Regions from separate parts of the Homo sapiens genome. Here regions 2 and 3 are each linked to region 1. Evidence: promoter capture Hi-C in human tissues and cell types (Jung and others, 2019). All regions are on one chromosome and are shown on one strand. Each heading gives the region's core, a stretch centred on a gene start or on the middle of the fragment in contact. The rest is flanking DNA. Distances are from core to core; before and after follow the strand shown.

Evidence for each region. Contacts are between HindIII fragments. The study calls those that stand out against the background at their distance.
Region 2: a contact is called between a fragment that was not itself captured here and the fragment with the promoter of RBM4B in region 1, in 3 of the 25 tissues and cell types used here (bladder, liver and mesenchymal stem cells).
Region 3: a fragment that was not itself captured here is called in contact with the fragment with the promoter of RBM4B in region 1 in 5 of the 25 tissues and cell types used here (H1 embryonic stem cells, IMR-90 fibroblasts, mesenchymal stem cells and 2 more).

What each region holds. Positions count from the first base shown.
Region 1 is chr11:66,676,359-66,679,406 of GRCh38, forward strand. RBM4B (RNA binding motif protein 4B) reads right to left here and starts at 1,529. Exons shown (of 4, transcript NM_031492.4): 1 at 1,406-1,529; 2 at 310-733. The coding sequence starts at 721. RefSeq lists silencers at 1,142-1,251, 1,452-1,731. The HindIII fragment of the contact is 6,531 bases long and covers 1-3,048 here.
Region 2 is chr11:66,771,108-66,774,155 of GRCh38, forward strand. The region is part of intron 2 of TOP6BL (TOP6B like initiator of meiotic double strand breaks); the gene reads left to right. It also overlaps the pseudogene FTLP6. Among named protein-coding and RNA genes, the nearest start is that of TOP6BL, 28 kb to the left of the region's middle. The HindIII fragment of the contact is 4,546 bases long and covers 1-3,048 here.
Region 3 is chr11:66,753,518-66,756,565 of GRCh38, forward strand. All of the region lies in intron 1 of TOP6BL (TOP6B like initiator of meiotic double strand breaks), which reads left to right. Among named protein-coding and RNA genes, the nearest start is that of TOP6BL, 10 kb to the left of the region's middle. The HindIII fragment of the contact is 4,704 bases long and covers 1-3,048 here.

The DNA of each region.
Region 1 (3,048 bases), core at 279-2,778:
TGAGGTACTCGTTTCCCCAAGCAGATTACACTTCCAACAGCACTCGAATCAATGCAAGAATCCCGCAGGGTAAAGTAACCCACAGTTTGTGATTCTATGCAGTCGGTGAGCAACATCTTAGCAAACCTGAAAAGGGGAAGTGTTTGCTTCCCCAGGGGTAAATTATGCTTAAGAGCGGTAAACATAATCTATTATTTCCAGCTAAAACAGAATGGAAGAGACCACCCAGCAAGTTCTATAGTCTTGTGTTCTTGCCTGTTTTGAGCTAGACCCCACTCGGCGCTACTACCCAGGCCCAGAGCAGTTCACCTTGAAACTCTGTGTTGTCAAGGCCCCTGATGGCCTCCACTGCATCCTCTGCCCGCTCCATGTGTACGAAGGCATAATCTTTCACGATGTCACATTCGATGACCGGACCATACTCCTCAAACTTGGCTCGAAGCTCTTGGTTGGTACAAGTGGGGCTGATGTTACCCACGTGTAACTTGGTTGAAGCTTTGCTCTTATTCTTGCTGGCTTCCACGTTGATGTTCACCCCATGAAGCTTGTAATGGTGCAGGTTGCGTATGGCATCCTCAGCTGCCGTCTTGTCTTCTATGTGCACAAAGCCGTAATTCTTAATGATGTCACATTCCAGCACCTTCCCATACTGCTCGAAGAGTGAGCGAATCTCCTGCTCTGTAGCCTCCCGGGGAAGGTTTCCGATGAACAGCTTCACCATCCTGACAAGAGCCTGGGAGAGAAACACAAGACTTCAAAAGTCAGGGGTGTGGTGGGAAATTTCGGTGCACTGCAGCATTTTCGTCTAATCCTCCAAAGTTCTTGCACCTTCAAGACCCTCGTACAGACATTCATTATTCTTCCTCAATAGAAGAAGGGCGGTTTGTTCTCGAGAAGTGCGAGCTATGCGTGACATGCAAACAGGAGGTCGAGGGTCAGCATGCATAGCCCAGTCTATCATCTCCGTGAAGTGGAGCGCAATGAAATACCAGAATTAGCTGCTTCATGTCTTAAAATGAGGGAAGAGAAAAGCCCAAGCAAAGGCAAGGGGCATCAATCGCAGTGCGCCTGGTAACAAGGTTTTGGAGGGAAATCTGTGTACCTCTCCTGCGCGCACTAGCGCCTTTCAAGATACTCTAAAAAGAAAAAAGTCCCCTTTCCCCCAAACCGGGGACCAACCACCTCGCCCCCAGCGGCCCACCCTCCAGCTTCTTCGCCCCAACAAAGACTCGACCCGACCCCTGCCCCGCCTCCTTCCGGAGACCCGGCCCCGCCTCCTCCCGTTGTCTTCCCAGACCTCCCGCTGCAAAATGAGAAACCCAAATCCGGGCCGTGCAGTCTGCCGGAGGCCCGGCCCGACCCGCCCCCGAGCTCCCCACATCACACACACACGACCCCCTCGCACCTCCGGGTGGCGGCAGCGACGGCGGCTCCCACGTCAGAGAGAACCTTACAAAATGGCGACGGCCGCTCGAGCCTGGACGCGACCGGGCCCTTTCTCGCGCGCCAGCTCACGCACGCGCGAGTGCGCGCTGCTTCCCTCCCCTTCCCCTCGCGGGAGCCGAGTGACCAATCCCGAGGCTGCATACAAATGACCACGCAGCACGGGGGCGGGGCCTGTTGGTGGTGGCGCGGCGCCGCGGAGGTCAGCCCACCCCCAGCCCCAGCCAGCCAGTCACCACCCTGGAAAGGGTCGCCACTGCTGCGTCAGAGGGGCTCTGAACGCAACCACTGCCTAGAAAAGCGGAGGCCTTGGGGAGTCGCTCACCACAATGGGTCCTGCTCTTGGGCCCTTTGAGGGGGGCGGGGAGCTAATGACAGAGGAATCTCCCCGAGGGCCCTAAAAAGGGGCTTTTGTAGCGGGCTGGCCGGCTTCTGTGGCAGCTTGGGGCAACATTTCAAAAATACAGGTGCGCCACATTTTAAGCAAAACTAGTCATTGTTTTGTAGCGCTTTAAACATTATTTTAAAGTTTGTCATTGCAGAGGTGTTATTTATTGCTACGGAAACTGAGAACCAAGGGGCAGAAAGATAACCTGGCAGAACTGGGACAGGCCTAAGAGGCATTGCTACCCAGGCTACGCTTAGTCATGTTTTGTTTGCTCGTGAGTATCCGTGGTCTGATTCTCTCTCACTCATTGTGTGTCCATCACAGTCCTGGTCTGTGGTGAGCACGCCAGAGGAATACTTGGTGGAGAGGCCCAGCGAGGTCCCTAGTTCTGGGTGGGACAGGGTCTCCTCGTACACACCAAGCTGGAAGTCTAGGCAACTGAGTTTCCCGACTGTCTAGCATTCAAAATTCAGCTGTGGTCCAAGGGCACCTCCTGGCGGTAAAAACAAGCTTAGGCGTGCCAGGTGCGGCGGCTCACGCCTATAATCCCAGCACTTTGGGAGGCCAAGGCGGGCGGATCACGAGTTCAGGAGTTCGACACCAGCTTGGCCAACATGGTGAAACCCCGTGTCTACTAAAAATACAAAAAATAGCCCGGCGTGGTGGCGGGCGCCTGTAATCCCAACTACTCGGGAGGCTGAGGCAGGAGAATCGTTGGAACCCGGGAGGCGGAGGTTGCAGTGAGCCGAGATGGCGTCACTGCACTCCAGCCTGGGTGACAGAGCAAGACTCGGTCTCAAAAAAAAAAAAAAAAGAAGTTTAGGCTGATTCCCCACTGTCACCTTCCAGCAAAGAGTAGCCTTTTATGGAGATTGATGGATTGGGTTTATCTCCTAGTAGAGCCCGCCAGGGAGGTTGTCAGCCACCATTCCTCATTTTAGTGGCTCCATAATGGCTTCTCTGATACCATCTGGGACACATTCCCCAGGCTGCCCTCTTCCACCCCAGCTACTTGGATATGTTCTTTACCTGAGTTCTTTTTGTTTCTCAGCCATTTCAGAAGAGGCACTGTCCTTCCAATTTTATTTTATTTTTATTTTTTGTTTAATTTTTTAAAGACAGAGTCTCACTGTGTCGCCCAGGCTGGAGGGCAGTGGTGCGATCTCGGCTTACTGCAACCTCCACCTCCTGCGTTCAAGCCATTTTCCTGCCTCAGC
Region 2 (3,048 bases), core at 325-2,824, 95 kb after region 1:
TTCTATTTTTCTGAAAAGGTTGAGGTTATCCAAATGGCACTTCTTCTGGATTTCTTTTTTTCTTTTTTTTTTTTTAGAGATGAGGTCTTGCTATGTTGCCCAAGCTGGTCTTGAACTCTTAGGCTCAAGCAATCCTCCCACCTCGGCCTCCCAAAGTGCTGGGATTACAGGCATGAGCCACCATCCTCAGCCATTCCAATTTCTTTTTAAGAAATTTAAATTTGAGGCTGGGCGTGGTGGCTCACGCCTGTAATCCCAGCACTTTGGAAGGCCAAGGTGGGCGGATCATGAGGTCAGGAGATTGAGACCATCCTGGCTAACATGGTGAAACCCCGTCTCTACTGCAATAGAATGTGGCTGCCATGCTGGCTTTGCAACTTCAAGAGATCCTCTGCACCCTTACACTTCTCAGCCAATTTGTGGAAGAAGTGGCCAGTGCCTTCCAGTGCCACATCATTGTGGTCAAAATAGAAGCCCAGAATGAGAGAGATGTAGGAGGCCTACAGATACAAATTGACCAGGCGATTGACAGCTGCCTCCAACTCGATGAAATAATTCTGATGAGTCTAGTTGGCAAGAAGGAGCTAACCACAAAAACAGTGTTGGCTGGTCTCAGAAGCAGGAGATGGCCGAGAAGATGGTCCTGGAGGTTGCAAGTGGAGAGGACAGTGGAGGGCAGTTGGAGGCTGGAAGAGAGGGAGTCCCTGGGTTTGTTCCATCCAAATACTATTGAAGCAAGAGACAGATGGGTGGGACTGTCAAATGCACTGCCAGAACATCCATGAACAGCTCATGGTTCAAGAAGTAATTTCAACTTTTAAGGCTTATTATTTAGGAAATACATTTTATAAGACTATAGCTGCCATAGATAGTGAGTAGAGTCAATTAAAAACCTTCTGGAAAGGAGTCACCATTCTAGATGCCATTAAGAGCATTCGTCATTCATAGGAGGAGGTCAAAACATCAACGTTAACAGGAGTTTGGAAGAAATTGATTCCAACCCTTATGGATGACTTTGAGGGGTTCAGTACTTAAGTGGAAGAGTTAACTGTAAATGTGGCCCGGCCAGTAAGTGGTATTTTTTTAAGAATTTCATTTTCCAACTGTTTCTTGCTAGTATTTGAAATACAATTGATGTTTATATATTTTTCAAGCTTGCTAAACTAGCCTGGGAAACATAGCAAGGCCCCATATCTACAAAACATTTCTAAAAGTTAATTGGGCATGGTGCTGCATGCCTATAGTCCTAGCTACTCAGGAGGCTGAAGCAGAAGGAGTGATTGAAACCAGGAGTTGTAGGGTGCAGTGAGCTATAATTTTGCCACTGCACTCCAGCCTCGGAGACAGAGCAAGACCCTATCTCAAAAAATAAAAATCTTGGCCGGGCACCGTGGCTCATGCCTGTAATCTCAGCACTTTGGGAGGCTGAGGCGGGCAGATCATCTGAAGTCAGGAATTCGAGACCAGCCTCGCCAACATGGCGAAACCCCGTCTCTACTAAAAAATACAAAAATTAGCTGGGTGTGGTGGTGCGTGCCTTTCTTCCCAGCTACTCCAAAGGCTAAGGCAGCAGAATCAGCTGAACCTGGAAGGTGGAGGTTGCAGTGAGCTGAGATCATGCCACTGCACTCCAGCCTGTATTGTTAGATTTGATTTGCCATAATTTTATTAAGAATTTTTGCATCTATGTTCACAAAGGATATGTGTAATTTTCTTTTCTTGTAATGTCTTTGTCTTTTTTTGGTACAAGTAATACTGGCCTCATAGAATGACTTTGGACATATTCTCTGTTCTTCAATTGCCTAGAAGAGTTTGTAGAAGATATTATTTCTTCCTTAAATATTTGGTACAATTTCTTCCTTAAATATTTGGTGCAAATCATCAAGGAAGCCATCTGGGCCTGATTTTTTCCTTCCTAGGAAATATTTTAACTACAAATTCAATTTCTTTAATAATTATACAGTCTCTCTCTCTCTCTCTCTTTGAGACATGGTCTCTGTCGCCCAGGCTGGAGTATGGTGGGGCGATCTCAGCTCATTGCAGCTTTGACCTCCCTGGCTCAAGCGATCCTCTTGCCTCAGATTCAGGACTATAGGCCTGCACCACCACACCTGGTTTGTATTTTTTGTAGAGACAGGGTCTCACTGTGTTGCCCAGGCTGGTCTGGAACTCCTGGGCTCAAGCGATCCTCTTGCCTCAGCCTCCTAAAGTGCTGGGATTATAGGCACGTACCACTGCACCTGGCCTTTTTTTTTTTTCCTGAGTGAGCATGGGTAATTTGTGTCAAGGAATTTGTCCATTTTATCTAAGTTATTGGGTTATTGACATAAAATTGTTCATAATTTTCCTTATTATCTTTCTAATGTTTGTAGAATCTCTAGCAATATCCTCTTTCTTACTCCCTGGTGTTGGTTATTTATATCTTCTCTTTTATTTTCCTTGATCAGTCTGGCTAGAACCAGGTTCTTCCTGTTGTTCTATTTCATTCATTTACACTCTGATCTTTTATTCTTTCTTTTGCTCGTTTGGGGTCTTACTTGCTCTTCTGTTTCTAGTTTTATAAAGTGAAAGCTGCAATCATTGATTAGAGACAGTTCTACGCTAAAGTCATAATGACATTTTATGTAATTTCTTTTTTCTTTTTTTTGAGACAGAGTCTCGCTCTGTTGCTCAGGCTGGAGTGCAGTGGAGTGATCTCAGCTCACTGCAACCTCTGCCTCCCAGGTTCAAGCGATTCTCCTGCCTCAGCCTCCCGAGTAGCTGGGATTACAGGCCCCCACCACCAAGCCCAGCTAATTTTTGTATTTTTAGTAGAGACACCATGTTGGCCAGGCTGGTCTCAAACTCCTGACCTCAGGTGATCCACCAGCCTTGGCCTCCTAAAGTGCTGGGATTCTAGGTGTGAGCCACCATGCCCAGCCTATATAATTTCTTTAATAGTGCTAAAGTTTTAAATTTATATTTATTATTACATCTAGTGAATCTGGAGTTTATTTTTGTTTTGCTTTGCTAACCAGCTGACTTTAATGGAGTTTATTTTTATTTTAT
Region 3 (3,048 bases), core at 192-2,691, 77 kb after region 1:
TGCCTCAGCCTCCCGAGTAGCTGGGACTATAGGTGCCTGCCACCACGCCCGGCTAATTTTTTGTATTTTTAGTAGAGACGGGTTTTCACCGTGTTAGCCAGGATGGTCTCTATCTCCTGACCTCGTGATCCACCTGCCTTGGCCTCCCAAAGTGCTGGCATTACAGGCGTGAGCCACCGCGCCCGGCCATGTTTTTATGTTTTTTAAGACAGAGTCTCATTCTGTTGCCCAGGCTGGAATGCAGTGGCATGATCTCGGCTCACTGCAACCTCCACCTCCCAGGTTCAAGTGATTCTCCTGCCTCAGCCTCCTCAGTAGCTGGGATTACAGGTGTCTGCCACCACACCCAGCTAATTTTTATATTTTTAGTAGAGACAGAGTTTCACCATGTTGGCTAGGCTGGTCTCGAACTCCTGACATCAGGTGATACGCCCAGCTCAGCCTCCCAAAGTGCTGGGATTACAGGCATGAGCCACCACGCCTGGCCAACCAGGACTTAGTCTTATTGCCACAGCCCTGCAGTTGCAAGGAAGACTGAAAAACGTAGTCAGATTATGTGTTCAGGAAGAAGGAGAATGGGGTATTTGTTTGCGAGCACCAGCAGTCTCTGCTGTGGTCTCCATTGTCACAATGATGCACCTGGGTGTGGGTGTGTTTTCAAACATTGTGCTCAGCACTCAGCAAGACTTTTAAACCTGGAAACCCTTGTTCTTTGGTTCTGGGAGATTTTCCCTTGCATTCTCTCTTTTCTTTCCCCCCTTTCTGCAACTTCTATTATTTAGATATTAGACTTCCTAGACTGGTTCTTTTTCCTTTTTAAAATCGTTTCTCTCATAATTTTTATCTCTTCTACTTTCTAGGCATTATCTTTTTGAGTATATAAAGATTTTTTTAAAGTTTTCTTTTCTCCACCTCGTTCTTGTTTCCCTTGTATTGCTTTTCTTAGTCTGGTGTCTGTTTTCATGTTAGAAGCTTTCTTCAAATATCTTAAAATTACTGGTTGCTCATTTTTAAGAGTTAGAGACTATAAAGCTGATTTGAAATTTTAGCATCACTAAAAGGTGATCTAATTGGGCTTTTAACTGGGGAACTTTCTCTTCTCTTCAATATCAATATCTTTAGGTCTTTGCTCTTGGAATGACCAGATCTTTCAGTCTCTTACCAAGTGGGTAAAAGCCAGACTTGATTCTGGGAATGAGAGAGAAAAGGGGGTATTGGGTATCTCAGCATTCAGGGGTTCTGTTCACTAACTCCACTTGTTTTTAGTACAATTTTGATTCTCGTCCCAAAGATTGACACCTTGACCATTTTCAAGTATCTTCTCCCCAATCCACACCAAAGTTAGGGAGGAGCCAGTCCCTTGAATGCTGAGTGGAGGAGGGAATCTAAAGATTTATTTAAATTCATTTTTCAACAGACTCTCCTTAATTTATCTTCTACCTCACCCATACATTCAGAGGTTCCTGATACTGCCATGCCTGAGTGTTTTGCAATTTTATTATATAAATCAGGTTGTTTCTTGGCCTTCCCTGTCCCCTTATACTTAGATTACTCAGGTCTCCTAAATCCTTTCCTACTAGTCGTTCTGCTTTGTAGTTTCTAGATTTTTTTTTTTTTTTTGATATAGAGTCTCACTCTGTTGCCCAGGCTGGAGGTGCAGTGGTGTGATATCAGCTCACTTCAACCTCCGCCTCCTGGGTTCAAGAGGTTCTCCTGCCTCAGCCTCCTGAGTAGCTGGGCCTACAGGTGTGTGCCACCATGCCTGGCTAATTTTTGTATTTTTAGTAGAAACGGGGTTTCACTATGTTGGCCAGGCTGGTGTCGAACTCCTAACCTCAGGTGATCCACCTGCCTTGGTCTCCCAAAGTGCTGGGATTACAGGCATGAGCCACTGTGCCTAGCCTGTAGTGTCTAGATTTTTATTACAATCATGTTTGTCTCTTGTTTTCCATCCTTGTGGGTTTGTGCCCTTATAAATCTCTTTTCTATTATTTTATTGAGGTTTCAGGAGGGAATGAAAATAAACGTGTGTGTTCAATCGGCTGTCTTTACCTGGAAGTGTGCAGTGGTATCTTTTAAATTTGGTTTGAAATCTCTGCTCTCTAGGGCTGCTGTAACAAAGTACCACAAACTGGATGGCTTGAAACAAAATATATTTATTTTCTCACAGTTCTGGAGGCTAGAAGTCCAAAATCAAGGTCTTGGTATGGTTGGTTTGCTCTGGAGACTCAGAAATCTGTTCCATGCCTCTCTCCTAGCTTCTGGTGATTGCTGACAATCCTTGGTATTTCTTAGATTGTAGGTGTATCACTCCCTGCCTTCACATGGCATTCTCCTCTGTATTTCTCTCTTTCTTCACATGGCCTTCTTATAAGTACACCAGTCAATGGACTCAGGAACACCCTAATCCAGTATGACCTTGTCTTAACTTGCTGGCATCTATTTCCAAATAAGGTCATATACACTGGGGCTAGTACTTAAAACTATCTTTTGGGGGACATAGTTCAACCCACAACAGACTAGCAAATTTGATATCTGAGATGATTCATCTATCAGAAGCCAAGAGATAATTAGTTTTTTCCATCAGTAATTATTGAAGGCTTTAACAAATATGATTTTCATGATGTTTCCCAAAATGTATGCCACAGAATATTTATATGAGTTATAAGAAAGGAGTTATGTAGTCATTTAAATTTGGGAAATGTTAGTTAAAATAAGTTTTTAAACTATAGGTCTGTTCAGGACCTCTCATGTGCCAGTGTGGACTATGAAACATACTGTTTGGGAAATGCTACATACAGTTAACCCCCTTTTCCCCCCTTTTTTTTTTCTCAGGATGGAGTCTCACTCTGTTACCCAGGCCGGAGTGCAGTGGCGCAGTCTCGGCTCACTGCAACCTCCACCTCCCAGGTTCAAGTGATTCTCATGCCTCAGTCCCCCGAGTAGCTGGGATTACAGATGCCCACCACCATGCCTGGCTAATTATGGGTGAGGAGTGCTTCCACCTGCTCCACATCCTATCCAGCCCTCAATTTTCAGTTATATTTC